5 separate regions of the Homo sapiens genome follow, and all the other regions are linked to region 1. Evidence: promoter capture Hi-C in 16 types of primary human blood cells and fetal thymus (Javierre and others, 2016). All regions are on one chromosome and are shown on one strand. The core of a region is centred on a gene start or on the middle of the fragment in contact, and the rest is flanking DNA. Distances in the headings are between cores, read along the strand shown. Region 1 holds the start of TAS2R39 (taste 2 receptor member 39). Region 2 holds the start of LOC105375541 (a long non-coding RNA gene). Region 3 overlaps EPHA1-AS1 (EPHA1 antisense RNA 1). Region 4 holds the start of TRPV6 (transient receptor potential cation channel subfamily V member 6). Region 5 has its middle 19 kb from the start of TRPV6.

Region 1 (4,752 bases), core at 858-3,357:
CTCAAATCTTTTTTACTTACCAATTCTCTTTCTAATAAAAATCAATATAAATCTTTTAAAATTTTAAAATTAGTGAATACATGTTCTAAGTAATTCAAACAATGCATAAAGGCATAAAATAAACGGTAAATATTTCATTTATTCCCCAGATACCCAGTGACACCACTCAGAAGCCCTCTGTGAATTATTTTTGGTATATTTGTCCAGAAACTTTGCATGTACATATATATACATACAAATATATAAGTATTATGAAAAAAAGAAATACAGATGGAATCATAAAATATCTCCTTGCTTTTTGCACTGTGTATTGGAAATCTTTTCATCTCAGGAAGCATGCATCTATCTCATTTAAAAAAGGTTAACATAATATTCATTTCAGACATTCAATTCCCGTCATTCATGAACAGTGCAGCTGTGAAGAGCCTCTTGCACATATTTTTGCTTATTTATACAAAACCATGCTTAGAAAAAATTCTTAGTAATTTTTAGGATGAAAGGTGTTTTATGCATTATTAATTTTGATAAATAGTTCCACATTATTTTGGTTATATCTTTGAAAGATGGAGACAAAATGCATTTCAAACTTCTGCTCAGAAAACTTCCCAAGTTATCTAAATGTGTTTAAAAGGCATGTGGAGGGAGAAAGAGAGTTGTCAGGAACTAGTTTCAGAACATTCTTCTATTTTGGTGGCTATACAACCCTGCTGCACAGCAGAATCACCTGGAGATCTTAGAAAATTGTGTGAGTTCTAACACTAGAAATTCTGACTTAATAGATCTGAGATTGGGTTTGAACATTGGTATTTTCAAAAATCAACCTAGAGATTCTAATGGGTAGCCAGTGCTTAGAATCACTGCTTTAAACAGAGCAAGGGGAGGTAGAGGGCTCAGGTAAAGAATATGACAGTACCACTAAGATTGTACCCATGAAGCAAAAAAGAAATGATCAATTTCCTATATAAAAAGCCACATCAGGCGAAAAGGGTCAGATGAGGGTTGGAGAAGAAAAGAAGAGAGAAAAGAGAGGTCTAGGTGAGGGAATGGCAGAGCTGGTAAGGCCAGGTCCTGTGGTCTTCTTGGGTGCTGGTCACAGAGTCCACTCTTTTGGGTAAAGATGAAGTCGAAGCTGAAGCCGCTTCCAGGCTCTTCTCAGCCCAGGGTTATCTTGAATCAGTAGAATTGAGTGGCTGGCAGGGTAGGCAGCCATGATGATCTGGCACAAATTATTCCACAGACTGTTGATGTCAAACATGTTGGACAGGTAGATAAACAGAGCAACTGCATTGAAAATGTAGAGAATGAGAAAGTAGCTGATAGCTTTGATGGCCCCCATGTGAGCCTCCATGCTGGGGTCGTTGGACCCTGTGGCATTGCTTCCCATGTGTAGGGTGTGTCTCTTGAGAGAGAGGATCAGCAGGGTGGCTGTCAGGATGAACATGATCAGAGGAGTCACAATCCCCAGGTTAAAGAAAAAAGCCAGACCGACCACATTGATCTCAGACAAGTATGTTTTCTTAGTGGAGTTGGAGGAGTGGATAGGGAAAGAATTGTTACAATACACAGTGCAGATGTTGATGCAGAACATGCTGTGACTGAAGGAAATAAACACGGACAGCCACAGAAGCCAGGGTATCAATCCAGTAATTCTCCACCTCAGTTTGAGGAAAAGGGGGTAGGAGAAATTGGCAATCTTCACAAAGTAGAAGAAACTGAGCCAGGCAGCAAACCACAGGCTACAAAAATTTAAGAATATAAAACTTATTTTGAATGCATAATATACAGCGTCTTCAGAATAAAAACTTAGGGAGGTTGAGCTGATGGTAATTTCTAACATCATGAGGCTTTGGAGAGCTATTCTGGATACACTCAGGAAAACCAGGATCCTGCCACTTGTGGAAACTGCCTTATTTTGAACCCATTCAGCTGCATGTATAGCCATGATGAAACCATTTGCAATGATACCAATGAGGTATTCAGCAAGTAAAACTGCTAAAATTAAGGTGATGAGAAATGGCGACAATTCACTTTCTGCAGGATCGCAGAGTTTAGTCATTCTGAGCTGTTGCTTCTCTTTGGTGTCTGGAGGAAAACATCTCCCTAGCATTTGATGGGCAGACTCTTGATAACTCCCAGTATTGATGTCATAGGAGGAAGCAATTGATGTATCATTTCCAAATTCACTGCATTTGTTTATTTCAGAATTCTTAGCTCTACATCTAGAGATGCAAATGTTGGAAGGATTTGGTTTCTAATCCTCTCTCTATTTTTGAACATGTTGGTAGTGGTTCAATAATGAGGCCCAGGGAAGCGCTTGAGTAGACTCTTTAAAAGCAGCTAACATGGTACTGAGGTCCGTGTTCTTTGGTAGCATCAGTTAATTTGAACATTGGTTAACTGAGTCATCATTTAACTTACTTTCACTTGTGACTGCAGAAAATGATTGAAAATAAAAACTGCTACACACATACACACACACACACGCACTTCTCATTTTGTGCTAAGAAATTTTCAAATGATTTATTTATAATTACTACATTTAAACCTCACAACAACCTTATGAGCATGTGCTTCTATTACCTCCATTTTGCAGATGAAGAAACTAAGGCATACAGAGGTTAAATAACTTGGCCAACATCACACAACTAGAGCGTGATAGAACTGGGATTCAAACCCAAGTCACCTGGTCGCAGAGTTCCTCCTCTTATCCACCATGTTATGCTACCTAGACCTGTGGATTCTTTTGTGTGCCCAAGACTAAATGCAGGGTTGATTCCACTATGACATTTTTTTCCTGGTAGCCTTTTATGTCCCCACCCTCTAAAGAAAAATCAATAAAGCAAGAAGACACTGATTTTTAAGAGATAGGACTCTCTTTTCAAAGTAGATTACTTGAGAGGTAATAAATTTAATTATACATAAAAGATCATACACACACACACACACACACACATATTCACCTTTCATTTTAAGCAAAACTAGGAAAATAAGAGTTGAAGGTAAAACTCCCTAGTTCCTAGCAAGGTAAGCTAGCGAACCTGAGAATAAAAGCAATGTCCCAATTCATCCAATTTTGGAATATTAAAACAAAAAGAAAGGAAAAAAGAATCACTTTTATCTTAAGGAATTTTTTTCTGATTTTAAAACGCAAGCATAGGACACATAATGATAAAATGGACTTTTCATTTCAGGGTAAATTAATTTTTATGAATGTATGTAACTTTAAAATAATGATGAAGTAATAATTCTAATAAAGAGAAAGTTGGTGGGTGAGAAGTCTCAGAAAATCTTTATAACATTTGGTTTTTACTTAAAGCCTTTTAAAAACAAGGCAAGAACTCATAAACGTTTTCTGGCTTGATTAATGATTTTAGATGAGTTGTTACGAATTTTACCATCTCATTTGAAAATCACTATTCCTGAACAAATATTTCCCTTGAATACAGCGTAATAGACAACTGCTCCTCTCTGCTTGTTTCTACCCATTTGCACAAGTAGGCCTGGAGTATCTCAGGACCTCCAGTTTGGTTTTAAAGAGGATTTTTCTTGCCACTGGCTTTCCCCTACTTCTGCTGATCCAGGCTTCCAAGAGTGGGAGGAGAAACAGGACATGGTCCCTTCAGAGGCTGTTGCGTCTTTCCTCATTTGATTTGTTTATCCATGTATCCCACTCTGAGCCCCTAGCCCATGCCAGACACCCAGGAGGCAGTACATAGATACTTGCTGGGTTGATATATGGCCTTAGTGAAGACCTTCAGCTCAGAGAAGCTCTTTATGAGAGACATGAGGAGGAATGGCAGTTCCACGTCTCCTCAAATTTGAAAATCTGCAGGTCCTATGCCTAAATCAAGTGTCAGAGCATAAACAGTGAGGTTCAGTGAGAACACAGCAGACTGTAGAGAACATCTGTGTAAGAAACACTGGTGGGTGACAGAGGGGAACAAAGGAAGGGGAAGCAGAGACAGAGCAGCCAGATGAGAAAGAGCTCAGACAGGGTCTGGCTTCACAGTGTAGGGTGCTGCAGAGGCTGTGGGCAGGAGCTGGGACCACAGACATCACCAAAGGCATTTCAGAAGATGCTCTGCTTGCCACAGCTTATGAAAGAGGTGCTTCCTGCAATGGAAAGAGTTTTGTTCATGGAAATTTCCAGGGGCGATCTGAGGGGGGATGAAATAACCTTTCTGGGTGAAAAGATGATCTTTTCTTTTTCTTTTTTTTATTTATTATACTTTAAGTTCTAGGGTACATGTGCACAACGTGCAGGTTTGTTACATATGTATACATGTGCCATGTGGTTTGCTGGACCCATTAACTCGTCATTTACATTAGGTGTATCTCCTAATGCTTTCCCTGCCCCCTCCCCACACCCCACAACAGGCCCCGGTGTGTGATGTTCCCCTTCCTGTGTCTAAGTCTTCTCATTGTTGAATTCCCGCCTATGAGTGAGAAAATGCGGTGTTTGGTTTTTTGTTCTTGCGATAGTTTGCTGAGAATGATGGTTTCCAACTTCATCCATGTCCCTACAAAGGACATGAACTCATCCTTTTTTATGGCTGCATAGTATTCCATGGTGTATATGTGCCACATTTTCTTGATCTTCTTAAAGTAACACTGTTGGACCAGTTCCTAAATGGCACCTTCAGTTTCCTAAATACATCTTGGATGTATTTGAGTGGGTATTTCTAATATTAGGTTGGTGCAAAAGTAATTGTGGTTTTTGCCATTACTTTTAAAAAAAGGCAAAAACCACAA
Region 2 (4,752 bases), core at 657-3,156, 370 kb after region 1:
TGGACGGTAGACTTATTCTATGCCATTTGAGTCCTACTCTAAGTTATGGGCTTCCTGGGATACCTGTTCAATGTTCCAGGTATTCAACAAAGCTATTCTGATGGCTCAGAGCTGTATCTCTCTCAGCCTCGACCAAGATCTAGTAATTATTCATACTGTAGTTCACCAGCAGTTGTTAATTCTCCAGTACTTATTCTTTGCCTGCCCCTGTGGAGTTTCACCCAATGGATGCCAGCTTAGTATTTACCCAAAGACTCAATGAGACCTCATGAAAATTGCGGGGCTCTTTCCGTGCATGGCCTCCTCTTCTCTGAGCTGTGTCCTCAGCTCAGTAAGAATTTCAGGGTGCCATGCTCTGCTTGGGTCCCTCTTGTTTGTACAGTAACCCAGGAAATTCTGGGTAGAAAACGGAAATGATCACAGCACGCACCTCATTTGTCTCCTTTCACTTATGGATCACAGTTTTGTGCCATCTCTTGTCCAATATTAGAAAACAATTATCTCACGTATATTGCCCAGTTTTCTAGGTGTTTATTATTGGAGGGTATAATGGATTGAATTATACCCACCATCCCCCCAGAAAAAGATATGTTGACATCCCAACCCTCAGTACCTCAGAATGTGACTCTGTTTGAAAATAGGGTCATTGCAAGTGTGACTAGTTAAGATGAGGTCATACTGGAGCACTGTGGACTCCTAATATGACTGATGTACTTGTAAGAAGACAGCCGTGGGAAGACAGAAACACACAGGGAAAATGCCATGTAATGCCAAAGGCAGAGTTTAAAGTTATGTAGCTGCAAGTTAAGGAATGTCAAAATTTGCCAGCAAATCAACAGAAGCTAGGAATAGGCAAGGAAGAATTTCCTTCCAGGTTTCAGAGGAAGCATAGCTCTGTTGATACCTTGATTTTAGACTTCTAGGCTCCAGAACCATGAGACAATAAATTCTGTTGTTTTAAGTCACCCAGTTTGTGGTACTTTATTACAGCAGCTCAAGGAGAATTACAAAGTGGATGGATTGAGTACAAGTTCCTTCATCGTAAGTGGAAGCAGAAGTTCCTAACTCTTTTAGTATTTGTCATCTGAACTACTTTTCTATCTTTTACCTCCTCCAATAGATAAGTTATTAGAAGGCAAATATTGCTTCTTGATTTTTTGTTTTCCGTCTATCTAAGCTTGAATTTTATGTGCACGTAAGGTAGATGTGAAATTCATGGGCATCAAATATGGGTGGGTAAAATATAATTTTGTTTTCTATAATTAAAATTATTCTATATCTAGATCCTTGTTGCATTGGGGTACACATGATTAATTCAGGGGTTTCTCAGACAATTCATGCTTGTCTCCCTTTCCTTTTCTCCCCGGGTAGTGTCTAAATTCCAGGGTGCTTATAAAAGCGCTTGTCAAAGCATTGTGGGGAAGGTACTTGGTCTTTGGTCATCATTTAACTTTCCTTCATGACTCTCATTTGCACCATCATCAGCACCTGTCCCCACTGATATCTGCTGATCCTCGGTGTGTCTGTCTGTCTGTCCTTCAGGTTGTTTTGATCCACGGCGGGTACACTGTGCCTTACACATTTCAAACACGATGTCTCTTCAGGCTTGATGGCTTCTCTCAGTTAATCTGTTTCCCTGTGAATGAGAAAATGGCTATTCCTGATCTATCCTGAGATCTTTGGGGATTCTTGGAGACTACCTCAGGTCCCTCTGTTAAGACACATTCTAGAGCCATGTATGTTTTCCACTGCTGCTCTAATAAATTACTACAGACTTAGTGGCTTAAAACAACACAAACTTATTATCTTACAGTTCTGTAACTCTGAAGTCTGACACAGGTTTCACCGAGTTAAAATCAAGCTGTCAGCTAGGCTGCATTCTTCCCTGAGGGCTCTAGAAGAGAACCCATTTCCTTACCTTTCCTAGCTTCTAGAGGCCACCTTCATTCCTTAGCTCATGCCCCCTTCTACCTCCAGGGCCAGCAGCATGGCATCTCTCTTGCCTGCTTCCATGTCCACATCTCTTTCTTTGACTCTCTTCTGCTTCCTTCTTCCATGTTGAAGATGCTTGTGATTGTATGGGGCACACCTGATTAATTCTGACTACTCTCCCTGTTCTAAGGGCATCCAATTAGAAACCTTAATTCCATCTTCAACCTTAATTCCCCTTTGCCATGTAATCTAACACATGCACAGATTCTGGGGATTAGAATGTGGACATCCTTGGGAGCCATTATTCTGCTGACCACAAGTCATTTCTACTTACCAGTCTCTAGCCAGTATGACATGTAGGGACCCAGGACCTTGTTCGTCTCATTCTGGAAATAAGCACAATTTTCCTCTGCCGTCAAAACTTTTGAATTTCCATTTCTTCTCTCTCCACCTCTCTCTCATCCCTTTCCTTGATCAGGATGTGGATAAGAAGAGGTAAGTCACAATTCAGGGCATTCAGGAGCATCTAATTGGCTGACTCTCCCTTCTTTCCATTAGCCCAGGTAATTTTTAACTCTTCTGTAGAGGAACAAATAGGCTTTGCAAGTATCTTCCATTCCTATTATATAGGAATATATACCAGTTTTAAAATTAAAAAGACGAGTTAGTTCTTATTGCCATTCTCTTCATGTATAAAGCTTTCTCTTGTTGGCAGCAATTCATTAAGAATCTAGTATGGAGGGAAAAAGCTGAAGATGGTAACAAAAAGACTTGAAAAGAGGCTTGCCAGAGAGGTGGACACGTTAAGATGACCAGGACATGTTAAGATGACAGTTCCAGCCAGCTTTCAATTCCGTAGGGCACCTCCAGACCCAGGCCAGATGTGCGGCCAGGACTCTCCCATTAGTAGATCTACTGCCACAGAGCAGAGGGATCATATCCCCATCCTCTTTTCAATACATGAATGACTTAAATGATTGAATAACTAAACAGTATTGCAGATGGGGATGGAGATTGAGGAGATTTTTTTAAAGGCATCAGCCATATGGAAGGAGCTTCCAGCTACTGAGCTGTGACAATGATCAGGAGCCAGGAGCCAGCTGGTTACTCTGATCTGACTGATACATCTCTTCACCCTCCAATCTGCTGCAGCATCTCTAAGAAGGAGGATTACATTGCTGTCTACATGTGGTAATGACACTGAGCTGATGCAGCTGATGAGTGAAGTCAGGTCTCATAGGATACGCTGGTGTTAAAGACTGCCAGCCAGAGGAAAACGTGATGCGGTACCCTTGAGAACAAGAGCAATTCTCATTCTTTCTCCCTGTATCTCCCACCACCCACTGTCCACTTTCTCTCCACCCCATCCCCACTCAGGACTAAATAAAAATTTCAAAAGCAAAGAGGAAAGAGAACAGAAATGGAAAGAAAGGGAGGAATAGGCTATGTGTGCACATATTTATTTTGGCTTCACTCTCTGCAATCCTAACATGCACAGATATTATATTATCAGATTTATTAAAAACTGAGATTGAACAACTGTTCAATGAAAACTGCTCTTGCGTTGGCTATAGCTATTTTTCATCATATGTTCCAAATGTTCACTGCAAGCAAACTATATTTACCACTTGATTTATCATTTAAATAAATGTTATAAGAGGATTAATTCCATTTTGAAATGATAAAAAACAAAACATTCCCCTATACATATGGTGTATTCAAATGCAAACAAAAAAATGTGCTACAGCCAAAACTGTCAGAAGCAAGAACCCCAACATTAACTTGGAATTGTGTTACTGTAGCATCAGCAACAACAACAAACATATGACATCACTAGGCCCTGATGAAATGGGAAAGTGTTACAAATGCTTTATTTGCTTAAAGCTTATTCTCCCTGTTCAGCCACTTTTACGGCTTTCTTTCCTGGGTTTTCATCTCAAACCGCTCCACCACATCCAACCCAAACTAAGTAATTGTTCTGAATATGAATCCTTCAGAATACAGAGCATGGCAAAGACAGAGGGAAGAGGAGTTTCCAAGGGTGTGCTGGTGTCCTCCAGGCATCTGAAGGTCTTTTGTCCCATTTCAGCAGAATGACATTTTAGCAGCTACCTAGCAGAGTCCCATGCTTAGCTATTATGAATCCTTACTATTATGAATTCGTGGCTTGACTGTGTTTTTTGTGGCTCGTGATCCCTTCAGCCCCTACCTTCCACCCCATGCCATTGTAAATCTCCCAATCTTTGCTGCAGACATAGGGAGTCAAAAAAAAAAAAAAAAAAAAAAAAAAAAAAAAGCCAACATATGTAAGAGTGCCTGCCTGCAGTGCACCAGGCAAAATGCATCTTTCAACAATTTTTAGATATTGTCATCATTATTTTCACTTTATAGATAAGAAAATTGAGAATCAGGGTTTGCTTGAGAGTTCCCAAGCCAGCAAGAAGCAGAGCTGTGAAATGAACCCAAATCCATATGATTCCAAGTCTCTGTGATGTTTCCTATTACTCATATTGCATTTAGAGGATAAATTAGATCTAGTTGGCCCATTAGAGACACATGGAGCAGATTCCAACTTTGATCAGTTCAGGAGTTAATTATGCCTGTCCAGGTCTCAAAATCTGTCTGCCAGGGATGAAGATTATGCAGGCGATCCCTTTGGCTGTCATAGAAGCTTCCTGCCCTCAGAACTGAGCATTTCTGCTTTGATTACCCCAAAATACCTGAATCTCTTGAGCCCTATCCTTTCATCTCCCAGGTAACATGTCTAGCTCTAGTTTCCAATTTCAGATAAACTAAAATCTTTTTTCATCCTTCTATCAG
Region 3 (4,752 bases), core at 1,616-4,115, 320 kb before region 1:
AAAGTGGATGATATTAATTAAAATAAATGGCATGTATTATTTGTTTCAATGTACTTCCAGGGTTTGACCCTACAAATTTATTTGCTTTGTGGGAAAATATGAATGTTCAAAAATATTCATGTCAGCGTTACTTGGATTATCAAAAATCTAGTAATTTCTTAAATATCAATCAATATGTGACCAATTAAATGCATTTTGGTTTATCCCTGTGATGGAATTCTATGCAGCTGCTGAGAAGAATGAAACAGTTTTATCTATGGCAGGTGTGGAACCAGGTCTCATAAAAGTTGTTAAATGAAAAAAGCAAAGCATGTGATTATGTGTATTAAGGAGTCATCCCTCATTCTACTCTTGTCTTCTGGCACATCTCACATTTTCCCTTGTTATTTCCACTCCTGGAATGCTCTTCCCATAGATCTTCCCAATCTGGCTTTTTGTCATTCAGATGCTGTCTCAACTCAAATATTGACTCCTCAAAGAGGCCTTCGTTGAACACCCCATGTAATGTTGCCTCTCCACCCCCTCTCACATTATCATGCTTTAATGTCTAATCATCTGTCATTACTGGAAATCATCTTACTTGCATTTCTACTGCTAATTGCCCATTCCTTCCAACATAAACTCTGTGAAAGGCCATCTGCTTCACTCACCATGGTATTCCCAGTTCCTATCAGTGTCTGGCATGGAATAGAGTCTTAAAAAATTGTTGAATGAATGAGTAAATAAATCAAGGTTTATGGTATGCTAGCATTTATGAGCAAAAATATTTAATTGTAGCTGGGTGCAGTGGCTCATGCCTGTAATCCCAGCACTTTGGGAGGCCACGGCAGGCCAATCACCTGAGGTCGGGAGTTCAAGACCAGCCTCACCAACATGGAGAAACCCCATCTCTACTAAAAATACAAAATTAGTCAGGTGTGGTGACACATGCCTGTAATCCTAGCTACTTGGGAGGCTGAGGCACGATAATCGCTTGAACCCAGGAGGTGGAGGTTGCGGTGAGCAGAGATTGCACCGTTGCACTCCAGCCTGGGCAACAAGAGCGAAACTCCATCTCAAACAAATATATATATATATATATACACACATACATACACACACATATATATACACATATATATACACACACATATATACACATATATATATATACACACACTTATATAATTGTATGTGCATGTATGTGTCTGTATATTTCCTATGTGTTCTCTACGTGTGCATGTATACACGCAGATAAAGACACACATATTTCTGCCAAAGTAAAAGTTTGGAGACTGGGGAATAGAGGTGGGATAAACCTACGTTTTTCATCGAATACCTTCCTTACATACATGTATGTGTCAGTTATTCAATAAATGCTTTTCAAATAAAAATACAGGATAGGCAGAGGAAGGGGAATACCCAACGGAGTTTTTTTTAAAAGAGCAATCAGAGAAGTAGAAGAAAATCAAACATATTGTGGTGTCATGGAAACCAAGAAAGGGAATTTCAAGGATGGAGTAATCAACAGTGCCAAAATGATACTGCGATTTCTAGAATAGTATGACTGGAGCCAAAGATGGCTTTTAAGATGCCTACTCCAACCCAGAAAGTACTGAATTCACCTGTACAAACCTCAGCGGTGCATGTGCAAAGGTCTACTGACCAAACAACAAAACACACATACAGAAATGCTGTCTAGCCAGAGATCATATAATGACTGCCACACTCCATCCAGGGTTAAAAGAACACAGAGAAGCCATTCAAATCTGTGTAATCAACTGCTGGAATGGGAAATAACATTGTCTTTCATTTTAAATGCTGAAATATTTAACACTGTTTCAAGATTTGTACCCAGATTTGTTTTAATCAGGTAGGGTAAAGTGACAGACACAGAAACAGCTGCCTTTGAAAGAACAGTTTATTACTCACAGTTCCTAAGAGGGGGAGGCAAGCTGTGTCATGCAGGGCCACGTGGAGAGGCATACTGTCTCTTTCTGTCAGGAGACAGAAAAAGAAAGGGAAGACCATGCCCGAGAGACTTGATTGTGGTTTCTATGGGAAGAAATGAGTGAGTGGAGTAGAAAACTTAAGGAAGTCTAAGATAGGATAGTTTGAATAATTTCAGCAGGCTCTGGATGACATGCGTGGTATCTAGTAGTCCAAGACCTCACCCTGGGGTGATTAGGGTGGGGAAAATGTTGACTTGGCATGTGAGAGTTAGATAAAGGAGGTGACTGAGTATATGAGCTCTGGATTGGTTGGTTTGCATCTTAATGACATTCTCACAGGGGACACATTTGCCCCTTCTTCTAAATTCCCACTTGTCCAGTTATCCCAAAGCCTGGGAAAGTATTCATTTACCAGGAACTGCAAACTCTTGGTGATCTAGCCACTTCCCTTCAGCTGAAAGTTGCCACTTCATAGGGACAGAATCTATGCAGTTAAAACAATGGGAACTTTCCCTTCTTAAAGATGTTTGCATACCTAGGAACTAGTTAGCACTGACAGGAGCAGTCTCTCCCAGCCAACAAGGCCTCCAAGATGTTGAAGCATCATAAAACATAGAAAATAAAAAACATAATCAATACACACAGTCCCAAAATGATATGTAAGACAGTGTGCATGGAATAAATTTTTTCTGTAACCCTTCAACTGGACCATCATTAATTCGAGCTGTCTTTCTATAACAAATCCCATCATGGGTCTGAAAACAATGCCTCACCAAATCCTCTCTTCACCACAGCCTCTTACTTCCCAGCTCTCATTTATTTGCTCTGAGACCATCCCTTGTCACCTTCATCAACAGCTTCAATCCTTTGGCCCAGATGTTCTCTCCACCTGTGTGCCACCTAAATGAAGCTCCTTCACTTTCTTTCAAAATCAAGATCTCTCAGACTAATGTTTAATTATTTGAGCCAACACTCTCAACTCCATTGTCTGTGTTCTACACACCCAATTTACAAACCTCAATCCGATTTTCTGACATCTCTAATACAAATCTGTGAGTGCTCAATACTTCTGAAGACAAATCTCATTACTCTATAACAGGGCCACTATAATTCTGTAGGATCCAAACTCAGACGGGCCTCATCCTCTGCTGCCCTGCTATACTGCTATATCAGTGGGCTCCTTCCTTGGCTGCATACTGGAATCACCCAAAGACCTTTAAAACTACTGAAGTCTGAGCCTGACACCAGAGATTCTGATTTGCTTAGTGTATTATTCCATTTTCATACTGCTATAAAGAGCTGCCCAAGACTGGGTAATTTGCAAAAAAAAAAAAAAAAAAAAAGAGGTTTATTTGACTCACAGTCCAGCGTGGGTGGAGAGGCCTCAGGAAATGTGCAATCATGGTGGAAGGTGAAGGGGAAGCAGCAGGCATCTTCTTCATAAGGTGGCAGGAAGAAGTGCCAAGAGAAGAGGAAAGAGCCCCTTATAAAACCATCAGATCTTGGGAGAACACACTCACTATCACGAGAACAGCATGGGGGAAACCACCCCCATGGTTCAATTATCTCCATCTGGTCCCTCCCTTGGAGAGATTATGCGGATTTGGGGGATTACAATTCAAGATGAGATTTGGGTGGGGACACAAAGCCTAATTATATCACTTGGTCTTGGTGTAAGTCAGGCATTGGGGTTTTCAACAACTCCCTTTAGGTGATTCTAAGGTGTAGTCAAGGTTGACAGTCACCGCCCTCTAATCATTACTCCAGTCCTTCACAGTGGAAGAGGCTACCCTGCTTCTGCTTAAATTTAACCCTCCTTGAGTTCCAGATCTCATCTTCACCTACCTCCTCAGAGAGCTCATACATTATTTACCACTACTATCTCCCATGCTTAGAACCCAGGTATATGAACATCTTTAAGGTAGGAAAGTTCCAATTATTCTAATTGCACAGGTTCTTTTTCTTGACATAGCAACTTTCAACTGAGGGGAAGTGGCTAGATCACCGAGTTTGCAGTTCCCAGTCAATGAATACTTCCTACAGAAGGTGGGTAACTGGACAAGTGGACAGTTAAAAGGGGGCTGTAGGGAGGGAACTAGAACACCACTATCCAGAAGGAAAAAAGAAAAGGTGAAGTAAATGTGGAAAAATACTTATTAAAATTTAATGAAATTTCTCTGCATATAAGACCATTTCCCACATCTAAGCTGAGGCTCACTTAGAGAAGTAATATTTGTGTAGCCCTTTGGGGGGCAACATTTCTCCAAGATATTTGAGTTGTAGGTAACAGCTAAGCCTTTATATTAAGCCTATTAATGACTTAAGTCTTTGCCTGGAGCTTCTGAAGTACCAGTCCCACATAGTGGAGATTAAGATTTTCTATGATCCTCCTGACAATGGACAAATGTACCTCCTTCATCTTACAATGGGAGGGGAGGCCTCCTAACCACACAATCTCCCTTAATCCAGCAGTTGGATCCCTCAGCTGCTCCTGGTGGCCATCTTCCCTGCAGTGTCTGCCTCCTCCCCTGGCTGTGCCTGATTGATGGGTCTTACTGACTCACCATGGAGGTCCATGTTATCTCCAGCCTTCAGCTGCTCCCGAAAGCAGTTGCTGCCTTCTGGGAAACAATCATGAAAGTGAATTTAATCCATCTTGTCTCATTATCATTAAAGCACACATCACAAAGGGAAAAGTAAAGTGCCTCACCTGAACGTTGCTGGAGCACAGCACCTGTAGAGGCAGGGCTGGGCCTCGGAGAGAAAAGTGGCAGTGCCGTAGCACAGGGGCATTGAGCCAGGCTACCTGGATCTGGATTCT
Region 4 (4,752 bases), core at 1,607-4,106, 300 kb after region 1:
ATCCCAGCACTTTGGGAGGCCGAGGCAGGCGGACCACAAGGTCAGGAGATCGAGACCATCCTGGCTAACATGGTGAAACCCCGTCTCTACTAAAAATACAAAAAATTAGCTGGGCATGGTGGCAGGCGCCTGTAGTCCCAGCTACCCGGGAGGCTGAGGCAGGAGAATGGCGTGAACCCAGGAGGCAGAGCTTGCAGTGAGCCGAGATCACGCCACTGCACTCTAGCCCGGATGACAGAGCAAGACTCCATCTCAAAAAAAAAAAAAAATGCGAGACTGAAAGTGATTGGTGGGGGTGCTTTCAGGAGCTTCTGGGGGTAGTGCCACCTACCCTAGGGCCACCTTCCCTTACTGATACGATGTTAGGTCCAAAGACCAAGAGAACATTGCAGCCAGAAGCTTATATCCTGCAAACTTGTCCTCCCCTCCCATCTGGACACCCCAATTTTGAGTCTGTTGGCTGATCCATGCACAACACCAGGTGGAGGAGGCTGAGGAAGAGGAAGAGCATTGGAAAACAACTTTGTCCTCCTCCTATCCTCCTCCCTCCCTAAGTCTCCCTCCCAAAGCCTCCCTCCCCCAGCCTCTCTCCCCAGCGTAACGAAGGCCTCATTGCTTTCTCTCCTTCCCCACCAGACACTAAACTGGGGTCTTTGAAGCTAAATAGGTCTTTGAAGCGACAAACCACTGGCTTAATGGGCACAAAGGTCTTGGGGTTCAAGGTTTGGGTTCTAGCACCTTCCCCCAACCCAGCCCGAACCCACTGACCCAGGTGGGTGGGGACGAAGCTAATCCAATTGAACTGTTTGCTCAGGACTGCGTGGCCTGGCCTCTGCCCAGCGGCAGGAACACAAATAGCTTTCCACTTGAAGGGGTCCTTCTCTCCCCTGCCCTACCTCAGCATCCACCTCCCTCCACACACCGACTCCCCCCACACACAGCACATATGACACACACCCCATGACATACATACACACACAACACACACCATACATACACACATAGTAAACCCACCATACACTACACAAATCATGTATACACCACACACACACACACACATCATGTACACGCACACATACCTTAAAGGTACCATATACATCACCCACTACACACCATACACACAACACACATGCAACAATCTTTCCACAATACGTATATACACAACACACATGTCACACATACCATCACAGACACCACATCCACACGCTCTACAGGCCATACCTACACATATCACATATATCATACACACGTAGACACATACCAAACACACCACAGGCACATCATATACATACAGCATACCACACACAAAACACCCCACCGATGCACATCATGAACACACGCATAAACACCACACACAAATGCACATGGGCACACACGCCATACACACGCCACACACACACTCCCCTGGCTGGGTCTTCCAACTCTGAGTCAGAGAAAGTTAGGACAAAACAGACTCTGAAGCTAGGAAGTGATCCACACACCTGTGACTCTGAACACCCAGACACCTGCCCCTAGGCTATTGGCACCTGGCTGGCACCAGGAGGTTGGATAAGCCCGGGCTTCTGCCCCTTTCCAGTGGAAAAGTTGAACTAAATGACCTTTCCGACAGCTTCCAGCAAGCTCATGATGGAGCTCTTTGTTGTGGGAAGACGATGGGCCATGCTTAATGCCATCATTCTTCTGTATGACTGTGCGAGTCACTTAACCTCTCTGAAGCTCTGTTGGCCAGTTAGAATGAGGAGGTGTGCTAGGGAGAAAGAAGTGGGCTTGGAATGAGGGATGGGTGTGAATCTTGCCTCTGCCACCTCTATGGCCTTGGGAGAGTTCCTTTACCATGGTGAGCTTTGGTTTCTCCCATCAATACAATGTAGATAATAATACCTGCCTTGCAGGTTTGTTACGAGTTTACCTGGGAACGCTCAGTTAAAAGGCCCAGCACACAGTAGCAGCTGAATGTCACCTCCACGGGAAGGCTGGCAGATAGAATACTTGCAAAACGTGGGGTATATTTATACTAAAAAATTCTTTGTTGTTTATCTAAAATTCAAATTTGACCACGTGTCCTGTATTTTATCGGGCACCCACCCCATGCACGGGGCATTGTGGACAGTCTGTGGAGCTCCTGAGCAGGGGGTCTGCCCAGAGCTAGATTTTGTGCCCTGGCTGGTGAGCGAAGAATGCATTTTACATCTTTGGGGGTGGTTAGAAAACAACCACCAAAACAAAACCAAAGAATAACGTACATTAGAGAGTGTACATGGCTTGCAAAACCTAACATCTTTACATTTCCTATCAGCCCTTCCAGAAAAAGTTTGCTGACCCAAAGGTGATGGGGACTGAGAGGAAAGTCTGGGAGAACTGAGTATCTTCGCAATTTATATACCTATTTCAGGCCTGGCAAGAATGAAACTGGAAGAGTCCAGAAAATGGAATTCTCCAGGACATAAGCAGGGGGAGGCAGAGAGTGAGGCAGGTGGTCGGCAGAAGAGGCACTGTGGGAAAGTGGGGCGCTCCCTCCTGGGAGTCCTCAACATTGGGAATGGGCCTGCCCTGACTCCTCCCCTCCTTTCTCACTGCCTAGAGTCTCTCAGGGTAGGTCACTGGGTGTTCTGACGTCCAAGGGAGGCCTCGCCAGTCTTTCTGAAGGCCTCCCTGGTTGTGACTGGCCTGGGGGCAGGGAGAGAGCCCTGGGTGGAGAAAGAATTGGAGTTGGCACAAGTCCCCCTTGGTAGGCAGGTCTGTGGCTGGCCTGTGTCTTTAAATCTCAGGTAATTTGGGAGGAGGGAGGGCGTGTCCGTGCAGCTTTGGCTCCTCCTGCTCACTCCCAGCAGGAGCTCCAGACAGGCCAGCCCTGCAGAGTCCTGGCTGGCTCTGCCAAGTGTAACAAACTCACAGCCCTCTCCAAACTGGCTGGGGCTGCTGGGAGACTCCCAAGGAACTCGTCAGGAAGGCAGGAGACAGGAGACGGGACCTCTACAGGGAGACGGTGGGCCGGCCCTTGGGGGGGCTGATGTGGCCCCAAGGCTGAGTCCCGTCAGGGTCTGGCCTCGGCCTCAGGCCCCCAAGGAGCCGGCCCTACACCCCATGGGTTTGTCACTGCCCAAGGAGAAAGGGCTAATTCTCTGCCTATGGAGCAAGTTCTGCAGATGGTTCCAGAGACGGGAGTCCTGGGCCCAGAGCCGAGATGAGCAGAACCTGCTGCAGCAGAAGAGGTAAGGCCCCCTTGGTCTGCTCCCTTCCCCACCTCCCCAGGCCTGCACCTCTACCCCTCACCCCTCCCTCACCTCCCGTCTTTGTTTGGCACCTTTGGCTGGACAGATGGTGCTCCCAGGCCCGGACTGGCTCCTTGGGAGCATTCTGTCTTAAGAGCCTCAGCCTGTAGGGCTGGTGAAAGAGGATGGGGTTGAGATGGGCACAGGTGTTCACTATCTTAAGATCTAATTCGATTCTGCAAGCCTCTTGTGAGTACTTCTCTAAGGGCCAGGCGTCTTGCTGGGGCTTGTAAGGATAGAGCATCACAGCCCCTCCACCCAAGAGGGGACGGCAGGTGAGGACAATGCCTTCTGTATCTCCACTGCTTGCCTCTAGAACAGTCTCTCTGGCAGGAACACATAGTATACATATGTTCGCATGGAGGAATGAGTGAACGATTGAATGAATGAAGCAGAGAGAACCGCGGACACCAGGAACCAGAAAATAAGACAAAATGTGAAAAAAGTGACCATTCCTATGTATCTGTCTCATCAGACACTGACCAAGGCCTTACTATTTGCCCAGCACTGGGGGGATATGAAGACCTACAACGCTCAAACCCAACCTTGAGGTGTATTTCTCTCTCAGTGCGGGTGGGGACTGAGGGGAAGCGGGTCAAAATAACAGATGTTCCGAGGACCTGTGCTCTTCCGCATTCAGGTGGTGGAAATCGAGACTCTAGCGTTTAAGCCCTAAGGACATTCACTGGTGGCTTCCAGCCCCTGAAAACTTCCTAAACCCGTGTCCTGCTTTCTTCACCATGACAGCTTGGAGTACAGAGCAGGAGAGGAGCAGGGAATCGGAACTCAGGGCTATCCCTGCATGTGGTCTCTTCTTCAAGGTCTCTAATAGAGTTCTCTACCCAGTTGGTGGCATGCTAGAAGGAAGTCCTGCCTGTTGGGGCTTTCCCTGGGTCACGAAGGAGGCAGATGTCTGGTCATAGAGGAAAGCCTGAAGTCTTTGTGCCTTAGGGTTTTTCTCTGACCCCAAGAGTAGGAGCCTGCTTTAGCCTGACCGGGGAGGCTGCCTGGAGGCCCCTGTGTTTTCTTTTGCTGAAGGATTCTGGGTTGGGGATGGTCTCTTTCTGTGAATTATGGCTTCCCATCTCTCCAGCCGCCCACCTCTCCCCCAAGGCCTGGGAGAGTGGGGACTGGAGCACATGTTTGGCTGATGACATCTTGGGGCAACAGAATGGCATTGTTGTTAGAGAGTAGGTCGTCCTCACTGGCTTCACTCATCCTCTTCCCACTCTTAGGACCCCAGGGCCAGGGGATCCAGGCACAGAGTGCAAAAAGGCCTGGGGGATTGGAAGGGGTGGTGGAGATTCCCTGTGTGCGATATCAGGGGAGAGCAGAGGGGAGGCCCTGCGCTGAGTGGCTGAGAATAGGCTGCTTCCGCATGTCCTGTCTGCCCTCACTTTTCCTCAGATCATATGGGGGCTGCCTCTGCAGACTTTGGCTAGAAAGGCTTGATGTCACCCTTGGGAGGGATCCCCCCTCC
Region 5 (4,752 bases), core at 961-3,460, 280 kb after region 1:
CCATCCTCCATTCCCATCTCCCTTTGCCCCACACTGAGTTGTGAAAGGAACAGCAACAATAGAGGAAGGGTCATCCCTCTCCAGGAGGGAAATTAGGAATCATGTGTCCAGGGCACCCATTATAGGTGCTCATGGTCAGCCTCTCTTGTGTCTCCAGCACTATACTTCTAATCCCAGCCCCATCATCACCCTTAGCAAAAAGCCATGTCAGCTTTTCAAAGGACTGTGGTCTGGGATAACAAAGAAGTAAGTGGTATTTGTGAAACCACAGACAGTTAATTCAGATACACCAGCCCAGGGCTGAGTGCCCAGCAGTGAGGGATTGCACAATGTGTATACACACGCCCGCACACACTGGGACACAGTGGTGGCAGGGTATGTAAAACTGCTCAGTCACCATCATTCTTCTTTATTCTCTTCATAGTAGAAGCACTTTAAAATTCTGCTTCTGTAGTCCTTTTTTTTTTTTCTTGAGACAGGGTCTTGCTCTGTTGCCCATGCTGAAGTACAGTGGTGTGATCACTGCTTACTGCAGCTTCGACCTCCTGGGCTCAAGTAATCTTCCCCCATCAGCCTCCCAAGTAGGTGGCACTACAGGTGTGCACCACCACACCCAGCTAATTTTTGTATTTTTTTTAGAGATGGGGTTTTGCCATGTTGCCCATGGCTAGTCTTGAACTCCTGGTCTCAAGCAATCCACCTGCCTCGACCTCCCACAGTGCTGGGATTACAGCATGAGCCACTGCACTAGCCCTGTAATCTTTTTAATACTTGCTTAACTTGTCTATAAACTTATATGTCTTTTGATTTGAGCCCTTGGCCTGCCCCCAGGTATTGTCCTTTGTCCTGGCTTGTGCACCTGGTATGTAATTAAAATTGCTTACTGCCTAGGTTTTTCACTAAAATAAGAATTACTAAGAGTTAACATTATAAATTAATGAATGTAATTAAAACTACTAGGTACATACAATGTGTATTAAACAGGTAGGCTGTGTTTTTTTTTGGAGAACAAATGTTAAAATAAGTCATGGGAGTGTGGTTCTTTTTTAAGAGAAAGTGTTTTTTTCTAGTTTAGAGGATTTTAAGGACTGTTTCAAGTTAACAGAAACGACAAAACTGAAGGTTTAAGCAAGTCGTAGAAGGTTTGTGGAAGATTGATCTTGTAAAAGGAATTTTGTGTGTGATCAAGTTTGGCTAAAATTTTAAGGGGATTATTTAGATATTATACAAATTGAACATTCATATAAATAGCACATTGATGCAGGGTCAGAATCTGAGCACCTGTGTGAGGCAGGATTTTCTTGGAATATTGATGTGTTCTTTAACACAAATTTGTAAAGTTTATAAAAGCCTCATGGAAATCTTACCTTACAATCAAACTAATTAAAATTTGGTAGATTTGCTTATAAGATTCTATTAAAGCTTTAGAATTAACAATACAGTAATACAAAAATAAAATTTGGTTTTCTCTTTTAAATAAGATTTTTGTATAATATTAAGAGATAGTAAAAGATTTTCATTTGCCCTTTGAATAAACTGCCAAAAAAATTAAAGAAGAAGGAGAGGAGAGACAGATTCAGTTGGCTTCACACTGTCTCTATTAGGTCCTATTTTTTAGAAAACTGAGGTCTTCTTTATCAAGGAGTAAAGATTTCTGCTTTTTTTTAAAATTGGTGAGTTATCACTTTAGCTAAATGATTATAATGACCTGTAATCTCATTTTGCGATATCAAGTGCTTTAAACTTTTAATGTTGGACTAACTTTCCAAGATTAAATTCTAAATGCAGTCTTTTAACCTCAAACTGACTTTTAAATGTCCAACAGAGGCATATTTGGCTTATTTGATATGTTAAAATCATACAGGAGGCATTGCCAAGTATAAAATGGTGTGTAACTTTCTTTGAAATATATTTATATAAATGTGCTATTGTTATGTGTTCCAAAATTGTATAATATTCTTATAATTTTAATATGTCTTGGTATATGTGATCAGTAATAATTATAATTATGGTAAATTATTGTGTGCCACAGAAATAACCAGATTTCCTTGTCAATTATATCTTTGACTGTGGATATCTTTTGTCATTCACAATTATTATTTTACTTTGTTCCTTTTCAAAAAGTTGCTTATAATCAGTTATAGGACTCTGATGGTGTATTAGTTCATTCCCATGCTGCTATGAAGAGATACTTGAGACTGGGTAAATTATAAAGAAAAGTTTAATTGATTCACAGTTCTGCATGACTGGGGAAGCCTCAGGAAACTTAGAATCACTGGAGAATCACCTCTTCACAGGGTGCCAGGAGAGAGAATAAGTGCCAAGCAAAGTGGGTAGCCCCATATAAAACCATCTGTTGCCCATGCTAGAGTACAGTGGGCAACTCACTGAATGAGTGAGTTCTCATTAGAACTCACTAGCATGAGAACAACATGGGGGGAACTGCCCCCCATGATTCAATTACCTTTCACTGGGTCCCTCCCACCACATGTGGGGATTATGGGATTACAATTCAAGATGAGATTTGGGTGGGGACACAAAGCCAAACTGTATCAGATGGATACTTTTAAATGCAGGTTTCTGACAGCTTTGGAGATTGTGCCATTAAAATAGAGGAAAAAAATCTTCCAGGACACTCCTGGAGATCTGATGTATTCATGAGGATTGTTGACCCAATATCAAATAGAACAGAGGTTAATTGCATGAACTGAGCTAATAGAAGACTAAAATAATTTTTTGTGTGATCTTTTTGTCTGAAACATTGGTGATTCTTTTCATTTTTTGGGTTGTTTACAGCTTTTAACAATTGAGTAAAATATGCTCTTGTGAGCAAAATTTAAAGCATATTTCTTTCTCTCTACCTGATTTCTCCAGAATTTGAAAACTATTTTTGAGTATTCTTAATTTATAACAATATAGTTATTTGTATGAGCTCAATAAGAATCTGCTTTCTTTTGTAACAGGACACAATTGGAGACTATTATTTTACTAAAGCTTTGACTAGAATGAAATATTTTAAGCTATAAACAAAACAACAAACTGTTTTAAGGAATTGCCATTGACTTATAGAGCCAATAAAAGATCCTTAAAAAAACTGGCCTTGTACCTTGCCTACACAATTCTTTTACAGGGTTCCCAACCTGTGATAAGTAAAGAACGTTACTTTCTGGCAGGCCCGGGAACCCCAAGTTATCTTGGGATTAAGAAGAGAGGCATTCGCCCAGTTCATACAGATATCTGCAGGCACAAATAAATTCTTGACTGGGCTTGGGGCCTTTAAAAAGTCTAAACTAAGATTCCTTAAATAAAAAAGTTTCCAGCAAAGTCAATTTTAAAAAAGCCTAAATAGAAAATAATTATTCTTGCTGCACTTTATACAAAGAATCAGGTGAAGTATAATACAACTAAAGCTTTTCTACAAATAAATTAGTCCTACTATGATTTGTCTTTGATAAAAATGGAGGACTGAGATAAAAATTATGTTTTTTTTTTTTTTTAAAAAAACATATAAAACACCTCTTCTTAGACCCCACCTTATCAATTGTTTCTCAGTTTCATTCTTTGTTAAAATGCATTTGGACTGAATCCTAAGTCCTTTCCTGGCTACAAGTCTCCAAACTACTGTTCATTTTTTTTTTCCTTTTTCTTTCATTTTTTCCCTTTTTTTTCTCATTTGGAATCTAGAAATTAAAACTAGAAATTTTAATTTAAAATTAAATTAAAATTAAAACTGTGCTTTTCTTAAAGTTCTGCCAAGTGAAACTTGAAACTTAAACTTTGGGAAAAGTAACAGCAAATTATTTATATATATAAACCACTTTTGTGCCTGCCTACTCATTCATGGACTTCAGAGCAATATAGCCTAAATCAGTTTTCCAGGATTACTTTCCCCTTTTGTTGTCATGATCTTTCCTCCTTTTCTACTGGTTTTCTTTCTCTCTTCTTTCCCCTATTTTTCTCTGTGGAACATGAAACTTCACAACCTGCTAAGAATGATCCTTTCTAAAATGAGGGACCTAACCCTCTAGAAATAAACTGTCCTAGTGACAAGGGATCAGACCAAACCTGAGATCAGACACTCACTTTCTTCTACAATGCTTTCCCTGAAAGATTTGGAAGAACAGGGTGGGAGGATGTGAAAGGAAAATAACATCTTGGGACCTCAAACTCACTATGTGAAAGGGAAAAGTTAAGTTTGGAAACTGAGTCAAACTTTTGGAAGTTGCCTTTCTTCCAAAAAGTTTGGAAACTGCCTGTCTTTTTGTTCCTAAACAGATAGCCTCAAGACAGAAGGCCACATTAGCTCCCCAGATGGCCTCCTTCACCCTGACATTATAAATTAACAGTTTATCTTCACGGGTACAGGAGAAGAGAAGAATAGAAATCGTCCCTCCTCCTACCCTGGGATGAAGGCATATTTGACTTCTTCCTCTAATTTACTTTGTCTTATGTAAAGTGCAGATTTACTGAGCATGACACAAATACATAAATGACTGTTCCTCTGTCCCCTGCTTCTCACATGCAACATGTGGATTCAGTGAGCACTAATCAAAGCCTCAAAAGAATGTAACCACTTGTCTACTCTCCGCCACTTTTCTTTAACTTTTCTCCTTCCCCTCCTGGCCACTTAACCCCTTTAAATATTGAAGCCTTCAAAACCCACTTTGGAAAAAGTGCAGGCCTCAGATCTTACTGTGGCCTGTGTCTCTTTTTCCTGTGTCCTCAACCTTGCAAAATAAACCTGTAAATTGA

What was found. The method cuts DNA at HindIII sites, captures the fragments that hold promoters and counts their contacts. A CHiCAGO score of 5 or more calls a contact.
Region 2: a contact is called between a fragment that was not itself captured here and the fragment with the promoter of TAS2R39 in region 1, in 1 of 17 cell types (total B cells). The highest score is 5.2, in total B cells.
Region 3: a contact is called between a fragment that was not itself captured here and the fragment with the promoter of TAS2R39 in region 1, in 1 of 17 cell types (neutrophils). The highest score is 5.5, in neutrophils.
Region 4: the fragment with the promoter of TRPV6 here is called in contact with the fragment with the promoter of TAS2R39 in region 1 in 8 of 17 cell types (neutrophils, naive CD8 T cells, monocytes and 5 more); the score reaches 11.0 in neutrophils.
Region 5: a contact is called between a fragment that was not itself captured here and the fragment with the promoter of TAS2R39 in region 1, in 1 of 17 cell types (M0 macrophages). The highest score is 5.5, in M0 macrophages.

What each region holds. Positions count from the first base shown.
Region 1 is chr7:143,180,774-143,185,525 of GRCh38, reverse strand. TAS2R39 (taste 2 receptor member 39) reads right to left here and starts at 2,107. Exons shown (of 1, transcript NM_176881.2): 1 at 1,091-2,107. The coding sequence starts at 2,107. The coding sequence ends at 1,091. The HindIII fragment of the contact is 8,536 bases long and covers 1-4,752 here.
Region 2 is chr7:142,813,640-142,818,391 of GRCh38, reverse strand. It overlaps LOC105375541 (a long non-coding RNA gene), which reads right to left and starts at 4,195. Exons shown (of 2, transcript XR_001745392.2): 1 at 2,267-4,195; 2 at 956-1,636. The HindIII fragment of the contact is 1,453 bases long and covers 1,180-2,632 here.
Region 3 is chr7:143,504,574-143,509,325 of GRCh38, reverse strand. It overlaps EPHA1-AS1 (EPHA1 antisense RNA 1), which reads right to left. Exons shown (of 5, transcript NR_033897.1): 3 at 4,496-4,552. Among named protein-coding and RNA genes, the nearest start is that of TAS2R41, 29 kb to the right of the region's middle. RefSeq lists a silencer at 4,412-4,752. The HindIII fragment of the contact is 6,452 bases long and covers 1-4,752 here.
Region 4 is chr7:142,883,849-142,888,600 of GRCh38, reverse strand. TRPV6 (transient receptor potential cation channel subfamily V member 6) reads left to right here and starts at 2,856. Exons shown (of 15, transcript NM_018646.6): 1 at 2,856-3,212. The coding sequence starts at 2,965. The HindIII fragment of the contact is 18,692 bases long and covers 402-4,752 here.
Region 5 is chr7:142,902,369-142,907,120 of GRCh38, reverse strand. No RefSeq gene overlaps it. Among named protein-coding and RNA genes, the nearest start is that of TRPV6, 19 kb to the right of the region's middle. The HindIII fragment of the contact is 1,572 bases long and covers 1,425-2,996 here.